Regions from separate parts of the Homo sapiens genome. Here all the other regions are linked to region 3. Evidence: promoter capture Hi-C in 16 types of primary human blood cells and fetal thymus (Javierre and others, 2016). All regions are on one chromosome and are shown on one strand. Each heading gives the region's core, a stretch centred on a gene start or on the middle of the fragment in contact. The rest is flanking DNA. Distances are from core to core; before and after follow the strand shown. Region 1 overlaps MIR373 (microRNA 373). Region 2 overlaps NLRP12 (NLR family pyrin domain containing 12). Region 3 holds the start of CACNG6 (calcium voltage-gated channel auxiliary subunit gamma 6).

What was found. Contacts are between HindIII fragments. The CHiCAGO score rates a contact against its expected background, and 5 or more counts as called.
Region 1: a contact is called between a fragment that was not itself captured here and the fragment with the promoter of CACNG6 in region 3, in 13 of 17 cell types (M1 macrophages, M0 macrophages, M2 macrophages and 10 more). The highest score is 12.1, in M1 macrophages.
Region 2: a contact is called between a fragment that was not itself captured here and the fragment with the promoter of CACNG6 in region 3, in 1 of 17 cell types (erythroblasts). The highest score is 5.0, in erythroblasts.

What each region holds. Positions count from the first base shown.
Region 1 is chr19:53,788,717-53,792,774 of GRCh38, reverse strand. MIR373 (microRNA 373) reads right to left here; the gene lies at 4,002-4,058. Among named protein-coding and RNA genes, the nearest start is that of MIR373, 2.0 kb to the right of the region's middle. RefSeq lists enhancers at 1-128, 129-629. The HindIII fragment of the contact is 229 bases long and covers 1,611-1,839 here.
Region 2 is chr19:53,815,127-53,818,862 of GRCh38, reverse strand. All of the region lies in intron 1 of NLRP12 (NLR family pyrin domain containing 12), which reads left to right. Among named protein-coding and RNA genes, the nearest start is that of NLRP12, 7.3 kb to the left of the region's middle. The HindIII fragment of the contact is 7,313 bases long and covers 1-3,736 here.
Region 3 is chr19:53,989,852-53,993,724 of GRCh38, reverse strand. CACNG6 (calcium voltage-gated channel auxiliary subunit gamma 6) reads right to left here and starts at 2,088. Exons shown (of 4, transcript NM_145814.2): 1 at 517-2,088. The coding sequence starts at 847. CACNG8 (calcium voltage-gated channel auxiliary subunit gamma 8) reads right to left here. Exons shown (of 4, transcript NM_031895.6): 4 at 3,510-3,873. The HindIII fragment of the contact is 26,668 bases long and covers 1-3,873 here.

The DNA.
Region 1 (4,058 bases), core at 476-2,975, 200 kb after region 3:
CTATTATACACTGTGCTTTCAACAAAAATACCGCCAGATGCGGTGACTCATGCCTGTAATCCAAATACTTTCGGAGGCCAAGGCAGGCAGATCAGCTGAGGTTAGGAGTTCGAGACCAGCCTGGCCAACATGGTGAAACCTACTAAAAATACAAAAATTAGGCTGGGCACGGTGGCTCATGCCTGTAATCCCAGCACTTTGGAGGCCGAAGCGGGCGGATCACTAGGTCAAGAGATCAATACCATCCTGGCTAACACAGTGAAACCCCATCTCTACTAAAAATACAAAAAATTAGCTGGGTGTGGTGGCATGCACCTATAGTCCCAGCTGCTGGGGAGGCTGAGGCGGGAGAATCGCTTGCACCTGGGAGGCAGAGGTTGCAGTGAACCGAGATCGCACTACTGCACTCCAGCCTGGGCGACAGAGCGAGACTCCATCTTAAAAAAAAAAAAAAAAAAAGGGTGTGGTGGCTCACACCTGTAATCCCAGCACTTTGGGAGGCCAAGGAGGGCAGATCACCTGAGGTCGGGAGTTCAAGACCAGCCTGACCAACATGGAGAAACCCTGTCTCTAATAAAAATATAGAATTAACCAGGCGTGATAGCACATGCGGGTAATCCCAGCTACTCGGGAGGCTGAGGCAGGAGAATCACTTGAACCCGGGAGACAGAGGTTGCAGTGAGCAGAGATCACGCCATTGCACTCCAGCCTGGGTGATAGAGACGCCGTCTCAAAAAAAAAAAAAAAAAAAAAAAAAAGAGGAATCCATATTCCCTTGGCTGGGTGCAGAGGCTCACGCTTGTAATCCCAGCACTTTGGGAGGCCAAGGCGGGTGGATCACAAGGTGAGGAGATCAAGACCATCCTGGCCAACATGGTGAAACCCCGTCTCTACTAAAATACAAAAAATTAGCAGGGCGTGGTGGAGGGCGCCTGTAGTCCCAGCTACTCAGGAGGCTGAGGCAGGGGAACCACTTGAACCCAGGAGGCGGAGGTTGCAGTGAGCCGAGATTGTGCCACTGCACTCCAGCCTAGTGACAGAGCAAGACTCTAAAAAAAAAAAAAATGCATATTCCCATTTCAATACACAGAAACCTATATTCCCATTATTAGGAATTCGAACTAAGAATCTTTAAACTATGTCACTGCCCGGTGGGAAATCAGGTCCCCATGCTGTGCTCAGCCCACACACTGGAGATCTACAGACCAGAACCTGCAAGGAGACTGAGGCAGTTTCAGAAAAAGTGACCTTACAACTCCAGAGATCAGATACTGATTCAGTCCTGTAGACATAATTGTCCCATTGGCCAGGTGCAACAGCTCATGTCTAATTCCAGCTCTTTAGAAGGCCAAGAATTTTTACACCAACCTTAAGGTGCCGCCTGAACACAAAAAAATTATCTACTCTATGTACTACTATCTATCTACCCCAGAAGGGGTATTCATGCATAGACCCAGCTACTGAAGCTGAGGAAAAATGCTTGAGTCCAGGAAGTGGAGGCTACACCTAGCTCGACAGAACCGCTACATTCCAGCCTAGATGACATGATCGTCTACAAAAAAGAAACTAAAAATGGCCCACCATTACCACGTAAAACTGTGCCTTAAGCTTTCTGCAATCCCAGCACTTTGGGATAAGAGATTGTTTAGGTTTCAAGACCAGATTGGGCAACATAGTGGGATCCTATCTCTAAATTTTTTAAAAAGTTATTTACCCAATATTCTTTATATGTCTGCATTCAGTCCTGTTTCCACAGCTGCTTCTGAAGCAAACAGCCCTGCTTACAAACCACCCCCACCTACACCCTGCTGGCCATACAGGCTAAACCCTAAACAAGCTTAAGAAACTCAACTAAAGGCTGGGCGCAGTGGCTCAAACCTGTAATCTCAGAATTTTGGGAGGCCAAGGTGGGTGGATCACTTGAGGTCAGGAGTTTAGTGAGACCAGCCCGGCCAACATGGGGAAACGCCATCTGTACTAAAAATCCAAAAAAAATTAGCTGGGCATGGTGGTGGGTGCCTATAATACCAGCTACTCGGGAGGCTGAGGCAAAAGAATCGCTTGAACCTGGGAGGTGGAAGTTGCAGTGAGCCAAGATCATGCCATTGTACTCCAGTCTGGCGACAGAGCGAGACTCCATCTCTTTAAAAAAAAAAAAAAACAAAAAAAAAAACACAAAAACAAAAAACCCTCAACTAACAATCCCCAAGCTGCCCGTAGAAAAGATGACAGGAGGCCCAGGTAGGTCAAATATAAAGAGAAGTCTTACTGGTTACCGTGGCGGACTCCCCACCAGTGGTGGCGGTATTGGGACAGAGGCTACAACTGCTTTATGAATTGCGGGTACAAATAGCAAAACAAAACTCCCTTGAATTTGAGATCTTACTTCAGTTCAGATACTGTGGAGTGGGCAAAGCAGCCGCAAGGGTTTGGAACACCTACAGGGGATAGGAAAACTTACAGGGGATAGTGGCCAGCAGACCCGGAAACCAGTGATAGGGCAAACAGCAACTAAGAACCTACTGAAGGCCCCACGTGGTGGCTCACGCCTATAATCCCAGCACTTTGGGAGGCCGAGGTGGGTGGATCACCTGGGGTCAGGAGTTCCAGAGCAGCCTGGCCAACGTGGAGAAATCCCATCTCTAAAAAATGCAAAAAATTAGCCAGGCGTGGTGGCTTATGCCTGTAATCCCAGCTACTTGGGAGGCGGGGGCAGGAGAATCGCTTAAGCTGGCAGAGGTTGCAGTGAACCAAGATTGCGCCATTGCGCTCCAACCTGAGCGAGAGCACGAGACCATCTGAAGCAAAAAAACCTTCCAAATATGAACTTAGGCCTGGCACTGTGGCTCACACCCATCATCCCAGGGAGGCCACCCAGGGCAAGACAGTAAAGCCCCATCTCTACTAAAGGAGGGATGTTTGATTCCCCCTAAGTTTCAGACCAAGCTGGCCAATGTATGAGACCCCAATTTCTACTAAACATTAGTGGAGCATGGCGGGGACACTCCTGTGGTGCCAGCTACTAAGGGTGGGGTGAGGGGGGGCTTATATGGGAAGATCTTTTGATCTAGGGAGCTCAGGCCTGCAGGGAGCTGTGATGGTGCCACCACACTTCAGCCTGGGTGGTTTTTATTTTTTGAGACAGTTATCGCTGTCACCCAGGCTGGAGTGCAGTGGCACAACCTCGGCTGGCTGCAAGCTCCACCTCCCGGGTTCATGCCCTTTCTGCCTCAGCCTGTGACTACAGGCACCCACCGCCATGCCCGGCTAATGTTTTTGTATTTTTTAGTAGAGATGTGGTTTCACCGTGTGAGCCAGGATGGTCTTGATCTGACCTCATGATCAGCCTGCGTCGGCCTCGGCAGTGCTGCCACTGTGCCCGGCCTTACTTTTTAAACTTGTTTGAAGTTTAAAGAGCAGAACTCTCAAAGAGCATAACTCTAAGTTCTAGCAGGGGTAGAAGGGAAGCACAAAATACTGACAAGTATTTTTAGGCAATGTACTTGGGTCATAGAAGAAGGTTCAGTAACGCCAGACATGAGGCTCATGCCTGTAATCCCAGCACTTGTGGGTGGCAGAGGAACCCAATAGACCAGAAACACATGATGTTGTTCACATTTTATTAAAAAAAAAAGTTAGGAAAAGTGAGACTGTGGCATTGTCCGTGTAGCAGGGTGGAAGCACTCCAGCCCATGCTCTGGCCAAACCCACTTCAAGCCTTACATGCATGCTGCCTACCAAATTCAGGAACAGGACCCCAAATTCCCTTTAAGGCCAACCAGATTCCCCCGACACCCCATCAAGCTTTTCCTGCCCTGTTCATCTGCAGGTGAACCCCGTATCCTGCCCACCCCAGAATATGCCAATTTTTATTATCTAAAATGGAGCATACAGACTGGTGCCCCGCAGAGAAGCCCGGGAACTCCAGGTCATAGCTGAAGCTGCAGTCAGACCCGCAGGCTCCCTTGAAGCAGGATGGTTCGTGATGCCCTACTCAAACAGGGACACCCCAAAATCGAAGCACTTCCCAGTACAGACAAAAAGGAAAGCGCCCCCAT
Region 2 (3,736 bases), core at 1,237-3,736, 180 kb after region 3:
CACTTGTGGCCAATGGGGAATCCAAGACCCTCAACCCGTGATTCTGAATCAGCAGGTCTTAGGCAACAGGAATCTGCATTTTGATGTGGCTGGTTCTCGCGGCATGCCTAGGAAACACTGAGGGAGAACATCTCTGAGGCCTTTTTCAGCTGCAATTTTCAAGAATTACCTTTTTTATTTTTATTTATTTATTTTTTTGAGACGGAGTCTCACTCTGTCACCCAGGCCGGAGTGCAGTGGTGCGTTCTCGGCTCACTGCAACCTCCGCCTCCCGGGTTCAAGCGATTCTCCTGCCTCAGCCTCCCGAGTACCTGGGACTACAGGCACCCGCCACCACGCCCGGCTAATTTCGTATTTATAGTAGAGATGGGGTTTCACCATATTAGCCAGGATGGTCTCAATCTCCTGACCTCATGATCCACCCACCTCAGCCTCCCAAAATGTTGGGATTACAGGCGTGAGCCACCGCGCTGGCCTGGATTACCTTTAAAAAAAAAAAATGTGGCCACACCTATAATCCCAGCACTTTGGGAGGCTGAGGCAGGCAGATCACTTGAGCCCAGAAGTTTGAGACTGGTCTAGGCAACATGGCAAAACCCCTTCTCTACAAAATTGACCAGGCACAGTGGTGCATGCCTGCAGACCCAGCTACCTGGGAGGCTGAGATGGGAGGATCACTTAAGCCCAGGAGGTGAAGGCTGCAGTGAGCCAAGATCATGCCACACTACTCCAGCCTGAGCAACAGAGCAAGACCCTCTCTCAAAAAAAAAAAAAAATTGCCAACCAGCTGCAGTGGCTCATGCCTGTAATCCCAGCATGTTGGAGGCTGAGGCACGTGAATCACTTGAGACTAGGAATTTGACAACAGCCTGGCCAACATGGTGAAACCCTGTCTCTACTAAAAATACAAAAATTAGCTGGTCGTGGTTGTACATGCCTGTAATCCCAGCTACTCCGGAGGCTGAGGCAGGAGAATCACTTGAACCCTGGAGGCAGAGGTTGCAGTGAGCCAACATCACACCAGCCTGGACGACACAGTGAGACTCTGTCTCATAAATAAATAAATAAATAAATAGTGCTAAAATACACAAAACATGAAATTTGCCCTCTTTTTCTTTTTTTCTTTGAGATGGAATTTCACTCTTGTTGCCTAGGCTGGAGTGCAGTGGCGCGATCTCGGCTCACTGCAACCTCTGCCTCATGGGTTCAAGCAATTATCCTGCCTCAGCCTCCCAAGTAGCTGGGATTACAGGCATCTGCCACCACGCCCAGCTAATTTTTGTATTTTTAGTAGAGATGGGGTTTCTCCATGTTGGTCAGACTGGTCTTGAACTCCTGACCTCAGGTAATCCACCCACCTTGGCCTCCCAAAGTGCAGGGATTACAGGCATGAGCCACCGCGCCCAGCCTCCTCTTAACCACTTTTTCTTTCTTGAGATGGAGTCTCGCTCCGTCACCAGGCTGGAGTGCAATGATGCGATGTCAGCACACTTCAACCTCTGACTCCCTGGTTCAAGCGATTCTCCTGCCTCAGCCTCCCGAGTAGCTGGGATTACAGGCACGCGCCACCATGCCTGGCTCATTTTTGTATTTTTAATAGAGACAAGGTTTCACCACGTTGGTAAGGCTAGTCTTGAACTCCTGACATCAGGTAATCCCACCTGCCTCGGCCTCCCAAATTGCTGGGACTACAGGTGCCTGCCACCATGCCCAGCTAATTTTTTTTTGTATTTTTAGTAGAGACGGGGTTTCACCGTGTTACCCAGGATGGTCTCGATCTCCTGACCTTGTGATCCACCCGCCTTGGCCTCCCAAAGTGCTGGGATTACAGGCGTGAGCCACCGCGCCCTGGCCCTCTTAACCATTTTTAAGTGTGCTGCTGAGTGTTGTACATTTACACTGATGTGCATTCAATCTGCAGAACTCTTCATCTTGCAAAACAAACTCGATACCCATTAAACAATTCCCTATTTTCCCCTTTCCTCTCAATGATAACCTTCTCCAATTAAAAATTTTTGAGTGGCCGGGTGCAGTAGCTCACGCCTGTAATCCCAGCACTTTGGGAGGCCGAGGCAGGCAGATCACCTGAGGTCAGGAGTTCAAGACCAGCCTGGCCAACATGGTCAAACCGCATCTCTACTAAAAATACAAAAATTATTTTTTTGTATTTTTACCACCACCTGCGTGGTCATGGGTGCCTGTAGTCCCAGCTACTCGGGAGACTGAGGCAGGAGAATCACTTAAACCTGGGAGGTGAAGATTGTAGTGAGCCGAGATCGCGCCACTGCACTCCAGCCTGGGCGACAGAGCGAGACTGTCTCAAATAAATAAAAATAAATAAATAAAATGGTGCCAGATGACTGAATCTACCAGAGCCAGCACTGAACAGAGGAAAGACAACAGTTTATTAGTCACACAGACTCACAGGGAAGGTGTCCCCATATGCCAAGAGGGTCACATGAAGCTACAGAGACTGTTGGGGGGGGCGGGCTGTGTAGTAACAAGAGGGTGGGGTGCCTCCTGGCTCCTTCAAAAGGATGTTCTTTGCTTTCATGAATCATTTCATGGACTAGCAACCAGCAGGGAGGTGAAAACTTATCAGAGTGAGGACCAGATGGGGTGCCGCTGGCTCAGCTGATGGGAGAACTAGCCAGGTGGGAAGACTTTCTCATGGAGTGAGAGCAAAGGAACTCACACTTAGGACTTTGGGGGGCCTTCTGAGGACCAAAGATGCCAAGGAAGGACTCGATGTGTAGAATCTTATGATATATCCAAACGAAGGCCTTTTTTGGGCTGGGCACGATGGCCCATACCACTATTTCCAACACTTCAAGAGGCCAAGGTCGAAAGACTGCTTGAAGCTAGGAGTTCCAGACCAGCCTGGGTAACATACTGAGACCTAATCTCTACCAAAAAAAAAAAAAAAAATTAAAATATTTTTAAGAGACAGAGTCGCCAGGCGCAGTGGCTCACGCCTGTAATCCCAGCACTTTGGGAGGCCGAGTTGGGTGGATCACGAGGTCAGGAGTTCAAGACCAGCCTGACCCACATGGTGAAACCCTGTCTCTACTAAAAATACAAAATAAATTATCCGGGCGTGGTGACACATGCCTGTAGTCCCAGCTACTCAGGAGGCTGAGGCAGGAGAATCACTTGAACCCGGGAGGCAGAGGTTGCAGTGAGCCAAGATTGTGCCACTGCACTCCAGCCTGGGCAACAGAGCCAGACTCCGTCTCGAAAAGAAAAAAGAAAAGATAATGGATGAGATGTGGCCCAGAGCTGACAAGGGAGGAGTCCAGACTGACTCAGAACTTCCCAGTCAAAAAGATTGGTTGGTGCCAGGTGCAGTGGCTCACATCTGTAAACCCAGCACTTTGGGAGGCCAAGGCAGGTGGATCACAAGGTCAGGAGTTCAAGACCAGCCTGGCCAACATAGTGAAACCCCGTCTCTACTAAAAATACAAAAATTAGCCAGGCATTGTGGCGCACACCTGTAATGCCAGCTACTCGTGAGGCTGAGGCAGGAGAATCGCTTGAATTCAGGAGGTGGAGGTTGTGGTGAGCCGAGATCATGCCACTGCATTCCAGCCTGGGCAACAGAGCAAGACTCCGTCTCAAAAAAAAAAAAAAAAAAAAAGACTGATTGGATGGATGGAGGTGCCAATGACCATGAGGGGGACCCAGGGAGGAGGGTGCGCTACAAGGAACAAGGGATGAGCTATTTCCCACACACGGC
Region 3 (3,873 bases), core at 839-3,338:
CTAGGGGTGCATGTTAGTCTGGGGGTGGAAACTGTAGCTGGGGACACAGGCTCATCTGGGGGTACAGGATAGTCGGGGTACAGGATGGTCTTGGGGCACAGGCTGTAGGCGGGGGCACAAGCTCTCTTTAGAGGTGCAGAATAGGGGTACAGACTCGTCTGAGGGGGTCTCAGGTCACAGCCTGGTCTGGGGGTACAGGATGGCCTGGGGGCACAGACTCCCTGTAGGCACATTCTGGTCTTGGGGTACAGTCTGTAGCAGGAAAGCAAGCTCTAAGGCACAGGTTCTCTGGCGGTAGGCCCGTGAGGGACCTGGGCCATATCTGGGGGATCCCTCTATCTCTCAGCAGTTTCTGAGAGCAGAGGACGAAGTGGGCACTGGCGCTTACTGCGAGGCAAGCTGTCTCCTCCGGGCTCAGGCTTTTGTCCCTGGGGCGGGTTTTCTCCTCGGACACGGGCCCCTCTCCCTCCCTGTCCGTGGGACGCAAGCCCTGCGCTCGGGGCGGCGGCTGCTCACCTCCGGGCAGCTCCGCGGGGCCGCAGGTGTCCCTGTCCACGGGCACGTCCGCCTGCCACAGCCGCTTGGTGCACGCCTTCCACAGCCCCAGGTGGGCCGCTTCGCACACGGCGCTGCCGTTGGCCTTGTAGGTGTTGAGCTCCACCCAGAACTCGGTGCCCACGGACAGCACCGCCAGCGTGGCGCCCACGGCGGCCAGCAGCAGCGCCAGCTTCACCTTCCCCTCGCGCTCGGGCGTCAGCCCCGACCTGCCCTGCCCGTGCGCCCGCCGCCGGCCCGCGGCCCCCCGCCGCCGGTTCTCCTCTTGCAGGAAGAAGTTGGACCACATCATCTTATGGCCGGTGGGGTCGGGAAGGGGGAGGAGGCAGAGCCGGCGAAGGGCCTCGAGGGGCGGGAGCGAGGAGCGGCCTGGGGTCTTGAAGGGGGTGAGGGACTCAGTTTCCCCTGGGTATGAAAGAGGGAGAGCCGAGTCCTGTCTGGAATCTCAAATGCGAAAGTCGAGATTGCTTCTGGGGTTCAGAAGAGAAAAATGATCCCCAGGGCTGGGGAAGCCTCTGGGGTTCAGAGGAGGGTCTAGGTTGCCCTCAAGAACTTGGCAAAGAAGACGGGGCCCAGAGGAAAAACAAGGCCCCCACCCTGAGGTTTAGAGATAGAATTCGGCTTCCCAGGAGGGAGTCCCCCCAAGAGCTCCAGAGGAATGAGAACTGGTGCCCGCTGAAGCTCCCTGCAGCTCCAAGGGGCTGCTTTGGGGTCCCCGCTGGGGGGTTAACAAAAGGGAAACTGGTTTTCCTGAGAGATCTGAGCACCCCACTAGGGCTAAGAGTTTGGGGTACCCAGGAAGGGACCTGAGGTCCTGTGTGTGTTTGGAGGAGATGTGGCCGGGGTTCCCTTGGGCTCAGAGTTTGAGAACAGAGGACTTGGGGACCCTCTGGGATTCGGAAAAGGAAGACCTGGGGTCCCGGGAAGCTCCCAAGGGGAGGTCGGAATTCAATCCGGGTCTCAAGAGAGGCAGTAGGACCCCGGCATCCACAGAAGGAGAAGAACAGAGCCCTGGCTGGGGCTCAGAAGAGGACTGGGCCTCGCTGGAATTCAGGAAAAGGGGATAGGGGTCTCCCCTGCCATTCAGAAAAGATCCGAGGTCTCTACTGAGCCTGGAAAAGGGGCCGGTGGCCGGAAGACAGAGTGGAGTCCAGAGGCGGGAGGCTACGGGGCCTCCCCGAGGGCTGGGGCAGATGGGACCGGGGGCCCTCCTGGGGCTCACACTATGGGGCTGTGGTCCGCACTGCGGCTCGGAAAACCAGGACTGAGTCCCCCCAGGGTTCAAAGGCCAACCGCGACCCGCAAGAGACGCTGCGCCCCTTCGGGATCAGTCCGTCTCCCTCCCCCGGGCTCCCAGGGCCTTCCCGGTCGGGTTCGCGCCAGGCTCAGCCCCAGGCCAGGGCCCCCCCTCGGGGCTCCCACCCCCGACTCCCGAGCAGGGGCCCCTCTCGCTCTCCTGCCTCGGCCCCGCGCCGACCCCAGCTCCGCGCTGCCTCCGAAGCGTCCGGCTGTGCCCGCCACCGCCACCGGCCTGGCCTCCGCCCGCGCCCGGCCTCGTCCCCACCCGCCCACCCCCCACCCTCCACCCTCCACCCTCGGGGCTATTTCGGGCTTGACCCGTAAATAACACCCGCACCTGTCGCCCGGCGCCTGTTGCCATAGGGATCCCGGGTGTTTTAAGGGGACGAGGAAGGGGGGAGGGAGGCCGCCCGGGGAGGAAGGGGCCGAGCCTGATGGGACTTTCATTTCACTAAGGGGCAAGAGCGGCGCCGAGAGTCCCAGCTCCGCAGTCTCCCGGGCAGCAGGAGACGGGCGGGGCAGCAAGTCTGACTGGGGTTACCAGGGAGGAGGGGCGGGAGGCAGGGCCCCGGGTCTCAGGGAGGAGGGCCTGAGGCCAGGAGTCTTGGGTCCCTAAGGGAGAAGAAGCCTCGGTACCCCACTTCTGAGTGGTAGAGGAAGAAGGCCTGGGTACCCAGAATCTTGGATCTGAGAGGAGAGGAACCTGGTCTCCTAGGTCCTGGGCTCCTGAGTCTGAGGGAGGAGGGGCTGGGGGCCTGAACTCCTGGGTCTGAGGGAGGAGGGGCTGGGGTCTGGACTCCTGGGTCTGAGGGAGGAGGGGCTGGGCCTGGGCTCCTGAGTCTGAGGGAGGAGGGACTGGGGCCTGGACTTCTGGGTCTGAGGGAGGAGGGACTGGGGCCTGAACTCCTGGGTCTGAAGGAGGAGGGGCTGGGGGCCTGGACTCCTGGGTCTGAGGGAGGAGGGGCTGGGGGCCTGGACTCCTGGGTCTGAGGGAGGAGGGGTTGGGGGCCTGGGCTCCTGGGTCTGAGGGAGGAGGGGCTGGGGGTCTGGACTCCTGGGTCTGAGGGAGGAGGGGCTGGGGCCTGGACTCCTGGGTCTGAGGGAGGAGGGGCTGGGGGCCTGGGCTCCTGAGTCTGAGGGAGGAGGGGCTGGGGGCCTGGACTTCTGGGTCTGAGGGAGGAGGGACTGGGGCCTGAACTCCTGGGTCTGAAGGAGGAGGGGCTGGGGGCCTGGACTCCTGGGTCTGAGGGAGGAGGGGCTGGGGGCCTGGGCTCCTGGGTCTGAGGGAGGAGGGGCTGGGGGCCTGGGCTCCTGGGTCTGAGGGAGGAGGGGCTGGGGGCCTGGGCTCCTGGGTCTGAGGGAGGAAGGCCTGGGCCTGGACTCCTGGGTCTGAGGGAGGAGGGGGCAGGGGGCCTGGACTCCTGGATCTGAGGGAGGAGGGGCTGGGCCTGGACTCCTGGGTCTGAGGGAGGAGGAGGGCCGGGGAGCCTGGACTCCTGGTCAAGGCGTTGGCAGACCCAGAGTCCTGGGCCTCAGGGAGGAGACTGGGGCCAGAACCCTGGGTCTTGAAGGATGGAAGGCCTGATTTCCATGTTGGAGAAAGCGCAGGCCTCAGGGCAGGGCCGGCTGTCAGGGGCACAGAATGAAAGCAGCACTCCTCTTCATCGAGTTTATTAGACGGGGCACCCCTGGGGGACCTTCCATGCAGTTTCAGCTCCCCCAGGAGCAGGGACAGAGGACAGCCGTGTGGCATGGCGGCAGGGCCTGATCTTCAACCCCTCACCCCCTACCCCTCAGCCCTTCTGTGGACGGCCCAGGTGGGACCCACCTTTCACCAACTCCTTCTTCTCCCACAGTTGGCTGCTCCAGGCAGGCCTGGCGCTGACCTGAGCGAGGCTCTGGTGCACGCTGGGCCTCTCTGCCCACCCCCTGCTCTGGACTTTTCCGATGGAGCACGTGTTTCCCCGCAGTGTGATTGTCTGTGTCTGGTTCTTCCAGCAGACTGGGGCCGGGGCCAGG